Regions from separate parts of the Homo sapiens genome. Here all the other regions are linked to region 3. The links are contacts of gene promoters, found by promoter capture Hi-C in blood cells and fetal thymus (Javierre and others, 2016). All regions are on one chromosome and are shown on one strand. Each heading gives the region's core, a stretch centred on a gene start or on the middle of the fragment in contact. The rest is flanking DNA. Distances are from core to core; before and after follow the strand shown.

Region 1 (3,367 bases), core at 546-3,045, 280 kb after region 3:
TCTATTATTCTCATTTTCTGTAAGTGCAAACAGCGTAAATGAGGTTGGATGACCTGCCCAAGGATCTATGGCTGCAATCTGGGCACCTCCTCATGTGGGCTCACCATACTCTGTACCTGCTGGAGTAACCACCCTTCAAATGGCCCAAGGGCCCCTGCCTCCCAGGATTTGTACCCTGTGTGGTCCTCTCCCACATTGCACCAGGGTTGGTCTGACCAATAACAGAGCAGAAGTGATGGGTATGTCACTGCTGGGATTAGATTGTGAAAGACTAGGCCTTCCATTGTGGAGCCTCTTGCTCTCTCTGGGGATTCTCTCTCTTGCTGTGGGAGAAGCCAACTGCCATGTTGTGAGCAGCTTTAGGGAGAGGCCCCCATGGCAAGGAACTGAAGCCTCTGTCCCAGTAGCTGCAGGGATCTGGGGCCTGCCAATCTCCTCATGAGCATTATTCTCCAGCCTCAGTGGAGTCTTACCTCTGTACTAGGAGGCAAGGTGACCTCCTCCAGAACCCCTACTCTCATTTCTTAAAACCTCTCCTCCTACCTGGGGTTGTTCTAGTAAATAAAGTTCCCCCACAAGCAATTCATTCCTTTCAGTACCCATTGCCATCTTCCTGTGCGTCTCATGAAGAAAACACCCGTGGGAGTTGTTCATGCTTAAGGAGGTTTCAATTTCTTTTATAGTGAGCCATATAAATATATATAAACTTATATATTCAAATATATAAATATTATAGATATATTAACATTTAAAAAATATTTCACATATACAAATATATACAAAATTTTGTATAAATTTTATTTATACGTAATAAATTTTGTATAAATTTTATTTATACGTAATAAATTTTGTATAAATTTTATTTATACGTAATAAATTTTGTATAAATTTTATTTATACGTAATAAATTTTGTATAAATTTTATTTATATGTAATAAATTTTGTATATATACAAAATACATACTTTTTTTCTAGGTGTGTATATATGTATATATACACAAAAAAATATATATATATTTTAAATTGTGAATGGCAGGATCTAATGTGTGCATAGTGAGCCAAACTCGGGTGTGGGCCAGGCACATATGGAGTCTTTATTTCTTGTCTGTTTTCCTAGGTTCCCTACGATGCCCCAGTTTTGTGACATAATTTCAGTGGAGTTAAAGATCCCACAGCACCAGCTGCTAGTCCAAACGGGCAGACAGTAGGCAGGCTGTGGTGGAGTGCTGGCGGGAGGAGGTGGCCGGCAGAGAGAACCTCCTCGCCTTGCTAGTTATGTGAGCTTCCTAATCATGTGAAGTTGATTTTGCTGAGTCATCACTGATGAGGGTATGGGTTCTTTTGGTCTGATGATGATGTGAGATACCATGGGGGGCCAGGGTGGATGGGAAGCTTCCTAAGTATGAGTTTACTTATTAAATCAGTTTTCTTCATGACAGCAAGAAAGTTCTGGATCACTGGGAGAATGGAAGAGCACCTGGCGCCAGGATTTAGCAGAGATATCATTTAGGAATCCATCAGGAATGGAAGAGCATGTAGAAAATTAGGGGCATACGGGGGAAAATAAGCTCTGATGTAATCCTGCAGATTTGCCCAGGGCCCCCTCTCCTGTTCTTGGCCAGCTGTCAGGAGGAAAAGGCTCTGTGAATGATGTCTTACTCAGGCACCTGTTTATGGATTTCCATCCTGTCCCAGGGATATTTGGGTTTAAGGAGGGGGGTGAGTGAAACTTTAAAACAAAACAGAACAAAAAACAAAAATAGAGGAATTCCAGGCACCAGGTGGAGATTGGTGGGACAGAGCCCTAGATTTGGTTTTAGAACTCTACCACTGGCTTGATTGGCTTTGGGTGGCTACATTTGCAGAGCTGGGTGGCACAGAGCTAAAAGAATGGGCCTGAGTGGGAACTTGGGCTCTTGTGGACTGTGTGGCCTTGGGCAGGTAACTTGGCCTCTTTGGATTGTCCTTGTTTGTAAAACGAAATTCAATGATAGTTCATAGCTAATACTTTTGTGGGGGTTTAGAGTAGGAGAATGCTTAGTACAGACTTGCCACATAGTAGAATAAAGATAAGCTATTACAGCTTTATAATGTGTTTATATTATGGCTATGTATATTATAGTAACATTACAATAATATCAATTAATGACAGTAATATTAATATACTACAGCTATGTAATAATACCTAGGAAGCTTCCATGGCCATAGAGAGCATGGTTTTAGGTTTCTTCCACTTGCCTGACCTTTCCTACCTGCCATTCACAAACATCAAAGCAGGCCAAGTTGAGGATCTGCTAGGAACTGAGGGCAGGGTGGGCCACAGGCCATCTGGGGAGGGTGCTTGTTCTTCTGGGTAGAATGCTTGGGGAGCCTCCCCTGCTGTCAGATTCTGGGTGGCACCTCTGTTCTTGGCAGGGACAGTCCCTCTCTGGGGCTGGGGAAGGCTGTACAATGGGTGCTCTGTTGCTTGCTGGGACCATGTCAAGGTATCCAACTGGGTCAGAAATGCAGCTACAGAGCTGGGACCCCCTGCTCCAGGTCATGTGTGAAAGTGTGGGCAGAGAGACCTCCAGCCTCCAGGCCTGTTAGCATCTCTGGAAGGACCAATAGGAATCACGTGGCAGGCAGTGTTTCTGGCACCCTGAGCTCTCAGTGGGGTCAACAGTCCTGTGGTACCCCAGCCCTCTTAGGTCAGGCCAGGGATGAGGGAAGGGCCAGTGCTTTGTACCTCTGGTCAGGCAATGGCAGTTTCCCACTAAAGCCCTACGACTTTGACTCTTGTCCCAGAAGTTTTACCACACACTGAATAAAAGTACGACTGTGAAGTTGTTGCTGCCTGACAGCTGGTTGCAAAACTGTGCCTTGCCCAGCACCTGGCACCAGTATTTGGCAGAGATATCATTTAGGAATCCATCAGGAATTTGGTCTCTGGGGTATGAAACTGAGGTGGGGAAGGAGAGGGTGGAGAGGGTTGGTTTAAAGTAACTTTAGCACCTCTTATTGTTTTAAGTAGTCTGCCAGGCAGTGACATTCATTTGGTCTTTTAAACCTGACAACCAAGATAGTATTATAATTATTCCCACTCTACAGGCCAGGAAACTGAGCCTCAGAGAAGCTGAGTGACTTGCCTTGGTGACACATCTGGGGAGAGTAGAGTGAGGATTAAAGCCTGCTGCTGTCTGCTTGAAATTCCCATGCTCTGACCACTCTATGGCACTGCCTGGCTGGACTAACTATTTCCCTATTGTGTTTGGCAGGTGCTGTCATTTCATGAAAGGCCAGTCTAAGTGTCTAGCTCTAGAGCTTTCTTTGGCGATGGGGCGGGCGTGTGTGCACGGGATGTCTGTCCTCTTGCGGCCTGGCTGTC
Region 2 (3,263 bases), core at 750-3,249, 310 kb after region 3:
ATTTTCTGGATGAAGATATGTGAAAATCAACTTTACGAAGTGATTACAGTAAGTACTGTGTGAGCATTTCATATGACCTGCAAAGAGAAGAAGGAAACCATGTGCTTTGCAGGAGGTAAAATGCTCAGCTGACTGAGATGCTGGAAGGTCTTATGGGGTCATATGAATGGGCAGGAAAATAGAAGATGACCTTTGATGCAGACAAAGCCATTATGTGTTTAGGGAAAAGTAGCCCAAACAACATAGAAAGTGGTTGCCTCTGACCCAGAGTGTATAAACCAGAGAAGAATTTTGGTCTTCGCAGCTTGTTTCTTACCTGTGATGCTAGTTTGGTCAAGATGGCTAACCAAGTGTTTAAAATTACCATACATCCTTAGAATAAAGAAGCCATAGAGATCATGTGATCTATTGATGGATTTAATTTTATAAGATGAGAAAACTCAGGCCCAGAGAGCTAAGTGGCTTGTTCAAGGTTCTATAACTACTTAGAAAATGTTTTGTATACCAGATGGAAAACATCAGTCTACCTTTCACGAAACTAAGACACCTGACAAAGGCTGCCTTAAAGAGTGTGGGGGAATTTCCAGAACCTTTTTACTTCTAATCACTCTCTATGAGTCACCCGCTAGGAGTTCTAATCACACCACCATTAGGTGGAAAGTTGACCAAATGGTCCCTCAGCACGTCCCATCGCATTGCTGTAAAAGTCAAATCATTGAGATGGATAGATATCTCACGACTAGTAACATTTTCTACATAATCTTACATAAATGATTCCTAATAAATTACACAGACAGGACTTCACAGTGAAATCACAAGTGAGTTTAGTACAGGCATAATGATGACAGCCCAAACATCTGTTGGTTTTGGAAGTAAGTTTTCCTATTTTAGAACTAGCACTGAATCATCAGGAGATGGGGCTTGATAGAACTTCAGAGGAATTTTAGATCTCTACCAAAAGATCTAATTCCTCTGCCCTGTATTAATTAGAAACGGTAGACATCGAGGGCTATGATTGTCTCCCTAGTTTCCCACGTACCTATTCCTTCCTTGACAACACACCAGAGAGAGTAGAGAAGACAGAAGATTAGAGAGCTTTGATGCTTTTAGTGTGGGACCGGTGATGACTGCCCTCTTGGACTCTATCTTCCCAGGACGGGTCCAAGCTTCCTGGTCCCCTTGCCTTGTCTGAGCCTTCCTGCCCCAGCTGACTTCCTAGGCCTGTGAATGCCTAACCCAAGTACTTACCTGCTTCCTCCAACTTCCTGGATTCACTTGGGACTCCATCCGTTATGTTACGGTTCTGACCCGTAATCTACACCTCACCTCTGCCCTTGGTTGAGCATTTGGTCTTTGTCTCTTCCTCCCAGCCCAGCCCTACATGTCAGTCATGTCCTACAATCTATAATTGATCACTGTAATGTCCCATTTAAATTTTTTTCTGTTGTTCATGTGGAATTTAATGGAACTCTTTTCTAAAAATGTGAATTTGAAAAACCTTCAGTCTACACTAAGACTATTGAAGAGCACAGTCTGTGTTAAAAGCCAGATGTAAAAACTGTTGGCTTTCATAAGAGGTACCAATTATAAGTAAATATCCATCAATCAATAAACACATCCTGCTCCAAGGTGCAAAGATTAGGGGAGCAGTCAAGTGGGGGAAATGAGTTGTTCTGATTGGAAGAAGGGGGGTGACATGGACAGATGTAGGGTGCACTTGACACAGAATCTTCTTTTTCCCCTGGTTCCTGAGGGGATAAGACATAGGAACCCAAAACATCAGAAAAGTAAGGTAGCAGTGATAGGGCTTTTCTTTCCTCCAGTGCAAACCAGCCATAGTATTATTCTTTTATTCGGACTTTAGATGAGAAGCCCTATATGTTTTGTTGTGTGGTGGGCTCCCCCCTCGCTCCCCATTTTTGAGACAGAGTCTCACTCTGTTGCCCAGGCTGGAGTACAGTGGCACAGTCTTGGCTCACTGCAACCTCCACCTCCCAGGTTCAAGCGATTTTTCTGCCTCAGTCTCCTGAGTAGCTGGGACTACAGGTGCACACCACCACACCCAGCTAACTTTTGTATTTTTAGTACAGACCGAGTTTCACCATGTTGCCCAAGCTAGTTTTGAACCCCTGACCTCAGATGATCTGCCCGCCTTGGCTTCCCAAAGTGCTGGGATTACAGGTGTGAGCCACCATGCCTGGCCACCCTGTGTGTTTTGATGTGTGGTCAAGCCACTGAAATTTCTAGAAAAACAAGGAGCCCGGGAAGGACTCATCCCAAGAAGTTGAAGGTGAGTTAGAAAATTGGCTACTACCCAAGTTAGACAGAATTCAAGGACTGGCATAAGCTGTGATGAATAGCAACTAAAGAATGGAGCTCTGATGCTTAATGTTTATATGTCTTTAAACCTTGCTTTAAATAAAATGCTTTATTTGTACTAGTTAAGTATTTGCTATGATGTGTTGCTTTAATGAAAAGCTCTGTTGAACTCTGTTGTGTGGGAAAGCAGGTTGGGCTTTGATTGGATTAACCATGCAGATAGGGAGTTAGGCTCTTTGGAGCCGAGTTGGTTCACACAGGCGGCACTACCCACCTACAGGTGTCCATCGCACCTGCGTTATGAGTACTGCTCCTAGGAAACCAGGCTCTGAGAGTACCAGCCTAGGAAACTTGAGCCAATAAAGTCACCACAAAGACCACAGCACTTAAAGATAGAAAGGGGCAAGTATAGAGGGGGTTGGGAGGGTGACAGGTGCATGCTCCTTTTATCATGATTTTAAAAAATAATACAGTGCTTTTGACAATTTTTTTTTCAAAAAAAATGAAAGCTTTGGATTTTTCAGGTGGGGTTATTTGCCTTTCATCTGTGTTTTCTCTACTGTTCTATTTACTGATCCATTACTTTCATCTTTGAAACCTGTCATTGTGGACTCTTGTATCAATGTAACTATCTGTTAAAAGGCTTTTTGCTTTTCGGGTCAGAAGTGTTTAATATCAGACATTTTAAATGATTTTATTTGTATTGACCTCAAACTTGAAAGTTATGCAAGAGGTACTGTAAAATTAAGTATTCAAAGAGATGAATGCCTTTATTGGACTTTTTTGATGAGCAGAGAGGTTGAGGGGTCCTAAGGGAGTGATGGAAAAGTGGAAAACTGACCAGGACCCAATGCCTAGGTCGCCGAGAAACAGGGCAAGAAAGAGGTCAAGGAGATGGGAGTGGAGCGGGTGAATACCTGCGCAATCTCAGGACACAGAAAAGA
Region 3 (3,236 bases), core at 607-3,106:
AAATCATGCATAAAATGAAAACAATCTTTGAAAACCAAGAAGTTACGGTAATTGGGTCTCAGACCAATGCTTTTCCTTAAATGGAATTTGTCTAAAGAGCCACATCTTCCCCATCACCATTCTCTTAAGTATCTACACACAAATGGGGCATTAGTTGGAAATCAAACTAAATATAACCATGAAAACTTAGTCCATGATATCACGGATTGATGGTAACTTCTGAAGATTACTTTCTCCAATTCTTCACTTTTTTGCATATGTGATAAGGTCAGTAAGAAAATGTAGGAAATTATAGTTTAAAATAATCATAAGATTTAAGATGCTCTAAGTCCTTCTTGTTTCTAAGTGTATCAACCACAATTGAATGTTGAACTCTTAAACACTACAAGAGAAGACTGAGGTTAGGGGCAATTCTTTTCGATATATGTATAAAGGAATATTCCTTCAACATGGAAGTCTTGGAATGAATTTCATGTAAGAAGGGGACTGATGAATGAGGAAAGAAAGGAAGCCATCACCTGACATGCAGCAGCTCCCTCACCCCGTTTTCCTCCACCCCAAAAGCTGTAGGAAGTAGAAAGCTGCAGAATGTACCTTCCAGGCCAGGAGCAAAACATTGAGGATGGCCAGCAAGGGGCAGGGTCCGTTCTCATTCTGGGTGATGATGGGTGTGTTCTCTTCCTTCCACTGGATCCACTTGATGTGATACACAGATTGTCCCGGGAAGCGTTCCTTGGAGGCCGCCAGCACCTGAGCGGTCTCCTCCCCCTCCTCCTCCTTGCACAGAGGAACAGCCCCGGGCAACACCGCCGCGCCCTCCTCCTCCTCAGGGACCCTGTTCTCCGCTCCCTCCTCACTATTGAACTCGCAGCTACTGGGAAAAGAATGCAGGTTAGAGAACGACTCCAGAGAGTCCAGGCTCGGAGATTCCCCAGGAGGGCTCGGGTCGCTGCAACTGCTGCTGAGGCCGCCGGCGCTGCTGGGCTCTTCGGAGCCGGCGGCGGTCAGTTCTGCTTGGCAGGTGCCGGCGAGATCCGGGCGGGCTCCCGCGTCTCCGGCGGTACCCAACTCATGACCCACTCCGGCCACGGCTGTCTCCGGGGAGGCGGTCACCTTGTACTGCCCTCTCAGAGGCGCCTCGGCGGCAGCAGGACTCTCCAAACCACTGTCCTTCAAGTCCAAACCCGCGGAGGAGCTGCAGGGTCCGGGAACCTCAGGAGAGCCCGCGGGAGAAGCCGAGTCCGGGAGGCTCCTCCTGGCGGCCGCCGCCCCCAGCCCATTCCCGCCGCTGGTCTCCGCCGCCCATACCCCAGGACCATCACCAGCGGCGAGCCTGGTCTCCTGTAGCCCTTCCTGCGAAGAACCTGTCCCTGACGCTGGCCCGGCCGCCACCCCGTGTTCTAGCGGCTGCAGGCTCTCGGGGCTGCTCTCCATACCGGGCCGCCCGCCCCCAGCTCTATGGAGACCGCGGCCACTTCTCCGCAGCCAGCGCCTTGGACGCCATGACAGCTGTATTGGCAGCAACAGCGCCCTGGCGCGGCCTCGGTCAGGCACGTCACCGGGGAGAGTACTAAGAACGCGCGCGGGCGCGCGCTACCGCTCTGTCCGTGCGCTCTGAGCTTGCCTCCGCCTGACTGCGCGCTGAGAGGCGAAGGCGAACCACTCAGCAGCCGCCCACGTGGCCCAGCCCTTTCCGTGCGTCCGACCGAGCTCGCTCTCGGAAGGCCGGGCGTGGAGGGCGTGGCTAGGAGGGCGCGGCCGGGGGGCGCGCCCCCGCGGCTCAGCTCCAGTAGGAAAACATCCTCTCACTATGTGGCCGGAAGTTGAACTCCCGGGCAGCTCCCTTGTGTGCGGCTTCTTTAAAGGGAAGGCAGGAGGCGGACAGCTTGGCTGTGACCCTTTAGCGCTGGGTCGCGTGTGGCCCACCCTCGGCCTGAGGCATTGTTGGGTGGTTGGAGGTGGTTGTAGTATTTGGAAAAGAACTTGTCCCTGAAGGGCTCAGGGGACTTGGTTTCTCAGCTCCTAATATGGAAAATTAAGGCATTTCTTACGAGATGCAGATTTTAAAGCAGGCATATCTACTCGACGGCTTTGGATTACTGCACTGCACAAATTCCAGTCTCTGTCGGTTTTGGCTGAGAAGAGCTGTGCTTCTCACCAGCTACTGGTGAGACATTCGCCCTACAGGAAAGGGTCGGTATGATTGTGGACATTGACATGCGTAGCAAAAGAAAGTGGCTAATTTGCGCCAATAATAATAAATTAGCTTGTATTTGAATTAGCCAAGTCTTTGCGGTTTTGCTAACTTGGCTTCACTTTGCATGGAGTGGGAAGCGCCTGCTTCTGAAAAGGTGACTTTTTTCCTAATTAGAATGGACTCCTCTTAAGGCCATGCAGTTTTCAAAGAAGAAAGACAAGCTGGACGTTTTGTTAGTAACAAAATGTATGTGGGTCCTATTCTAACTTGTTACAGAAAAGGGCTTTTTCCCCCATCTTTTTTCTTTCAACATTTTCTAGGCTGTTGGGGATAAAAAATTAACGAGACAGGTCTTCCTTCGCAGACATATAAATACCTGATACATAATTAGAATGTGATATTTTTGCACCTCTGTTGGTTAGAGAAGGCAGACAAGATTGCAAAGTAGTATTTCATTCATTCCTTTAATACATTTTAGTACCAAGTAAGTTGCTGGATGCTGTCTGTCACTGGAGATGCCATAGTGGATCACGGAGCTTATATCTTCATGGAGCTTACTGTCTTTTTTTTTCTTATTGCTATTTTTTAATACATACTTATATGTTTTTTTGTTTTTGTTTTTGCTTTTGTTTTTTTTTTTTTTTGAAACGGAGTCTCTCTCTGTCGCCCAGGCTGGAGTGCAGTGGCACGATCTTGGCTCACTGCAACCTCCGCCTCCCGGGTTCAAGCGATTCTCCTGCCTCAGCCTCCCGAGTAGCTGGGACTATAGGCGCCCGCCACCATGCCTGGCTAATTTGTTGTTGTTGTTGTTTTTGAGACGGAGTCTTGCTCTGTCGCCCAGGCTGGCGTGCAGTGGCGCGATCTCGGCTCACTGCAAGCTCCGCCTCCCGGGTTCACGCCATTCTCCTGCCTCAGCCTCCTGAGTAGCTGGGACTACAGGCGCCCGCCACCACGCCCAGCTAACTTTTTGTATTTTTAGTAGAGACGGGGTTTCACCGTGTTAGCCAGGATGGTCTTGATCTCCTGACCTCGTGATCTG
Region 4 (3,532 bases), core at 194-2,693, 330 kb after region 3:
GATGTAGAATAAGATATTTTTAAGATGGAAGATTCATATTAAGCTCCTGTTATGTGCTCCTGCTTCAGTTTCATGGGTGTTAATCTTTCCCATGATTTAGTGTTAAGCATAGCAATTCATAAGAAAACTTCAAAGAGACTTGCTCCAAGCCTTGAGGCTTGTCTTGGAGGAAAAGCTGAGTGTTTGCGGGTGTAGGGCCAGGTGAGCTTGCAAAACTGGTCCCTGCTGGGCCCCACCCCTGCCCTTGCCTGCTGGGAACCTTGTTCTCTATCAGGGAGTGGCCAGGGTTTTAGCCAGGCTGAGATAAGTCTATCAATCCATCTGGGAAAGGCAGCCTTTTAAAAACAACCCCCCTCATCAGTGGTCTGCCCTGCCTCCAGGATGAGGACAAAACTTCTGAGGATGGCCCTTCCTGTCCTTCCCTCTGGCCACTTCTTTTTATGTACCCCATCCAGGGCCACCCCAAAATCTCAAGAATTCCCAACTTCACTCTCCCTTTTCCAGCCTCTGAGTCAAGCAAGGCTGGTTCATGTTTTTTTTCCCTCTGCTTACAATGTCCTTCCACTTCTTGAAGGAAACTTCAAGATTCAACTCAGATATCACCTCCTCTGTAAAGGCTTCTCAGCTAACCTGCGCTGCCTCAGGGCTCTTGTAACATTTTGCATGTAGTGTTATTTACAAACTAATTGCATTGTGTTGAAATTATGCGCCTCTCCCAATCTCCAACCTCCCTGCCCCCACACACACCCCATAAGGGGCTAGAGACCCTGGCACAGTGGGAAGTCCTTGGTGAGTGGATGTACGCTTTTTCATTTTTGTACCCTCAGGGATATACTTTCCTACTGACCATGGGGCCTGGTACACAGCGGACAGTTTAATAAATGCTGTCACAGCTGCTGTTGATCTTGTTATGTTTCAGTATAAAGCAGTTTGTTTTCTTACCACTTTAGTTTCTCTTGGGACAAGGAAGCTGGAACATTTGTCACTGGAAAGTTTTTGGCAGTCACGGAAAGGTCAGTCCTAGTCAACGGATAACCCATAGGCTCTGCCCTGCTTTGATAATGCCTCACTCATAGGAAAAGAATTTTCCTGATCATATTTTCAGGCCTGCCAAGGAGCCGCTCAGGGTGGATGGTTAATTAGCTTTTGCAATGATTATTTTTCTACCAATTACAAGTAATGCTCAGCTTGGGAATTTTTGTTCATTTCAAGGACTGCTTTCTTTTTAGCATGTAGATATTTTATTTTGGACAAATACATTTTCACAAATATCTTGGGGTTTTAAATACTTTTGGGGTTGTAGCTACTGGGGAAGAAGTCAGTATCCAGGAGCAGTGGATGTTGATTCTCACCCCTTCAACCCTAGAAAGTTAGAAGTGAAGTGAGGTTTGCCCTGTAGCCTCGTGTTGTTTCTGTAGGAAGCACCCTAGCCTGGAAGTCAGTAACCTAGTTTCAAGTCTTGGTTCTTTTGTTTTTTCTCTAGTGGTTCTCTGTGGTCCCCACACCAGCAGCATCATTTGGGAACTGCTGAGAAACGTAAATATCCAAGTCTACCCCAGGCTCACTGAATCAGCAACTCTGTAGTTAGGGCCCCAGAATCTTATTTTAATAAGCCCTGGCCGGGGGCGGTGGCTCACGCCTGTAATCCCAGCACTTTGGGAGGCTGAGGCGGGCAGATCACGAAGTCAAGAGTTCGAGACCAGCCTGGCCAACATGGTGAAACCCCATCTCTACTAAAAGTACAAAAAATAGCTGGGCGTGGTGTTGTGTGTCTGTAATCGCGGCTACTCAGGAGGCTGAGGCAGGAGAACTGCTTGAACCCGGGAGGCAGAGGTTGCTGCGAGCCAAGACTGTGCCACTGCACTCCAGCCTGGGCGACAGAGCAAGACTCCGTCTCAGGAAAAACAAACAAACAAAAAAAGCAGCCTTTTAGGTGCTTCATTACCCACTACAGTTCCAGGATCACTGATCTAGTCAAACTCCTTTATTTTATCATTTCGTAGTAAATTTATTTTCTGATTATTTAAATCATGAAAGTCAATATACCATATACATACTATAACATTACATAAAGAGGGGAAGAGACAAAAGTTCAGATACAAACTCAACGGACGTATAAACATTTTCATGCATCTTCTTCCAGCATTTTTTCTCAAACACATGTATTTTCACACAGTTGTAATCACAGGACACACACAATGAGGCCTGCTCTTCATGTTGGGACATAAACACTACTCAGCGTCGCCACCTACACATCTTCCTGAGAACTATTTTTAAGGGCCACTGCCAGTCCACTGGAGAGCCGTGCCAGAACTGACTTCACCAGGCCCTGAATATGAACCTGCACAAGTGGAGGTGAAAACGCTGTAGACAAAGAGGCCTCCGCTTGCATTCCATGCATTTCCTTCTCTTCTCTTCACTTTTTCCCCATGCCTCCCCACCCCTAGCCAAGCCCCACTGGGGAAAAAATGAAATGAGGAATGCTTCTGGAAATAGACCCCTAAGTGGGAAGGAAAGGGAAGTTAGCCAACAGCCTCATCTTCCAGTCACCCAGAAACTCCATTCTCCTGAGCCAGAAACCCTCTCCTGGAACTCCGAAGCAGCTGAGATGTCACTGCGCTACTTTGTGACCATGTTTAGGAATTGCACCTTCTGTGGGGCAGCCGGGTGGGCGCCCTGACTCCTCCAGGGCTGGAGTGACTGGATTTGGTCTTCTCGCCCCAAGTAGGTACCTGAATGTAAGACCCGACTGCCTTTCTTACCGCGGCTCCTCCACCCGCTGCTGGACAGACTAGGCTCGGCCCCCTTGTTCTAGTTATCACCTTGGGACTGAAGTCCAGCCTGCTGGGCAGGGATCTGGAGGGTCCTATTGGCCCCTAGTCAGCCCTTTTCCCTGGTGGGTTGGACCCCATTTCCCAGCTGAGAGCGCCCCACTCGAAACTGGTCACTGTCCTGGGGGCCAGCGCACAGTACCTTCCTGGCTGTGAGAATCGCTGTGACCTCTGTTCTACGTGGAGCCCGTGGCTGTCAGGGACACCCAGGCTGAGGCCTGGGTGGTTGCATTCCCCTCATGATGAAATGGGGACTGTTCTGCCCTGTCTCGGGGCCCAGCCTCTTTCTGCCTCTCTCCCTGCTGTGCCAACTGTGATGACCCAGCATGCCCGCAGCACTGTGGCAGCTGATGTGGAGAGGAGGGCAGGGAGAGGGCCATCGTGGGTAGCCAGGTACCAGATTCTCTTGGCTTTTGGCTGCGCACTCATTTGGCGATTCATGTTTTCGGGTCAGCTTACAGACCCCATGCCTTCAACCGTCAGCCCTGCAGTTTCTCTCTCCAGCTCAGAATGAAAGAATATGGGTTCCAGTCCTGGGTCTCTGTGAGAGGCAAGCAGAGTGGAGGACAGGCTGCTGTCCCCCGTCTCTCCAGGGTGGACCTTTCAGCAGGACCACAGACCTGCTCAGCTGTAGGGCTAGGAAGGATGGCCATGGATGGGAGGGTCTCTTGCATGGGAAAGATAGAATTTCCCTGGAATGC

Evidence for each region. The method cuts DNA at HindIII sites, captures the fragments that hold promoters and counts their contacts. A CHiCAGO score of 5 or more calls a contact.
Region 1: a fragment that was not itself captured here is called in contact with the fragment with the promoter of MINDY2-DT in region 3 in 1 of 17 cell types (naive CD4 T cells); the score reaches 5.4 in naive CD4 T cells.
Region 2: a fragment that was not itself captured here is called in contact with the fragment with the promoter of MINDY2-DT in region 3 in 1 of 17 cell types (fetal thymus); the score reaches 8.4 in fetal thymus.
Region 4: a contact is called between a fragment that was not itself captured here and the fragment with the promoter of MINDY2-DT in region 3, in 4 of 17 cell types (total CD4 T cells, erythroblasts, fetal thymus and 1 more). The highest score is 8.0, in total CD4 T cells.

What each region holds. Positions count from the first base shown.
Region 1 is chr15:58,491,121-58,494,487 of GRCh38, reverse strand. The region is part of intron 1 of LIPC (lipase C, hepatic type); the gene reads right to left. The region is part of intron 2 of LIPC-AS1 (LIPC antisense RNA 1); the gene reads left to right. Among named protein-coding and RNA genes, the nearest start is that of LIPC-AS1, 5.9 kb to the left of the region's middle. The HindIII fragment of the contact is 801 bases long and covers 1,395-2,195 here.
Region 2 is chr15:58,463,631-58,466,893 of GRCh38, reverse strand. All of the region lies in intron 1 of LIPC (lipase C, hepatic type), which reads right to left. The region is part of intron 2 of LIPC-AS1 (LIPC antisense RNA 1); the gene reads left to right. Among named protein-coding and RNA genes, the nearest start is that of LIPC, 33 kb to the right of the region's middle. RefSeq lists a silencer at 2,661-2,750. The HindIII fragment of the contact is 1,662 bases long and covers 1,169-2,830 here.
Region 3 is chr15:58,769,594-58,772,829 of GRCh38, reverse strand. MINDY2-DT (MINDY2 divergent transcript) reads left to right here and starts at 1,856. Exons shown (of 2, transcript NR_135474.1): 1 at 1,856-2,443. It overlaps MINDY2 (MINDY lysine 48 deubiquitinase 2), which reads right to left and starts at 1,528. Exons shown (of 9, transcript NM_001040450.3): 1 at 595-1,528. The coding sequence starts at 1,434. RefSeq lists a silencer at 1,574-1,853 and an enhancer at 1,666-2,591. The HindIII fragment of the contact is 12,290 bases long and covers 1-3,236 here.
Region 4 is chr15:58,437,827-58,441,358 of GRCh38, reverse strand. The region is part of intron 1 of LIPC (lipase C, hepatic type); the gene reads right to left. The region is part of intron 2 of LIPC-AS1 (LIPC antisense RNA 1); the gene reads left to right. Among named protein-coding and RNA genes, the nearest start is that of LIPC, 7.6 kb to the right of the region's middle. RefSeq lists a silencer at 2,104-2,344. The HindIII fragment of the contact is 7,142 bases long and covers 1-3,532 here.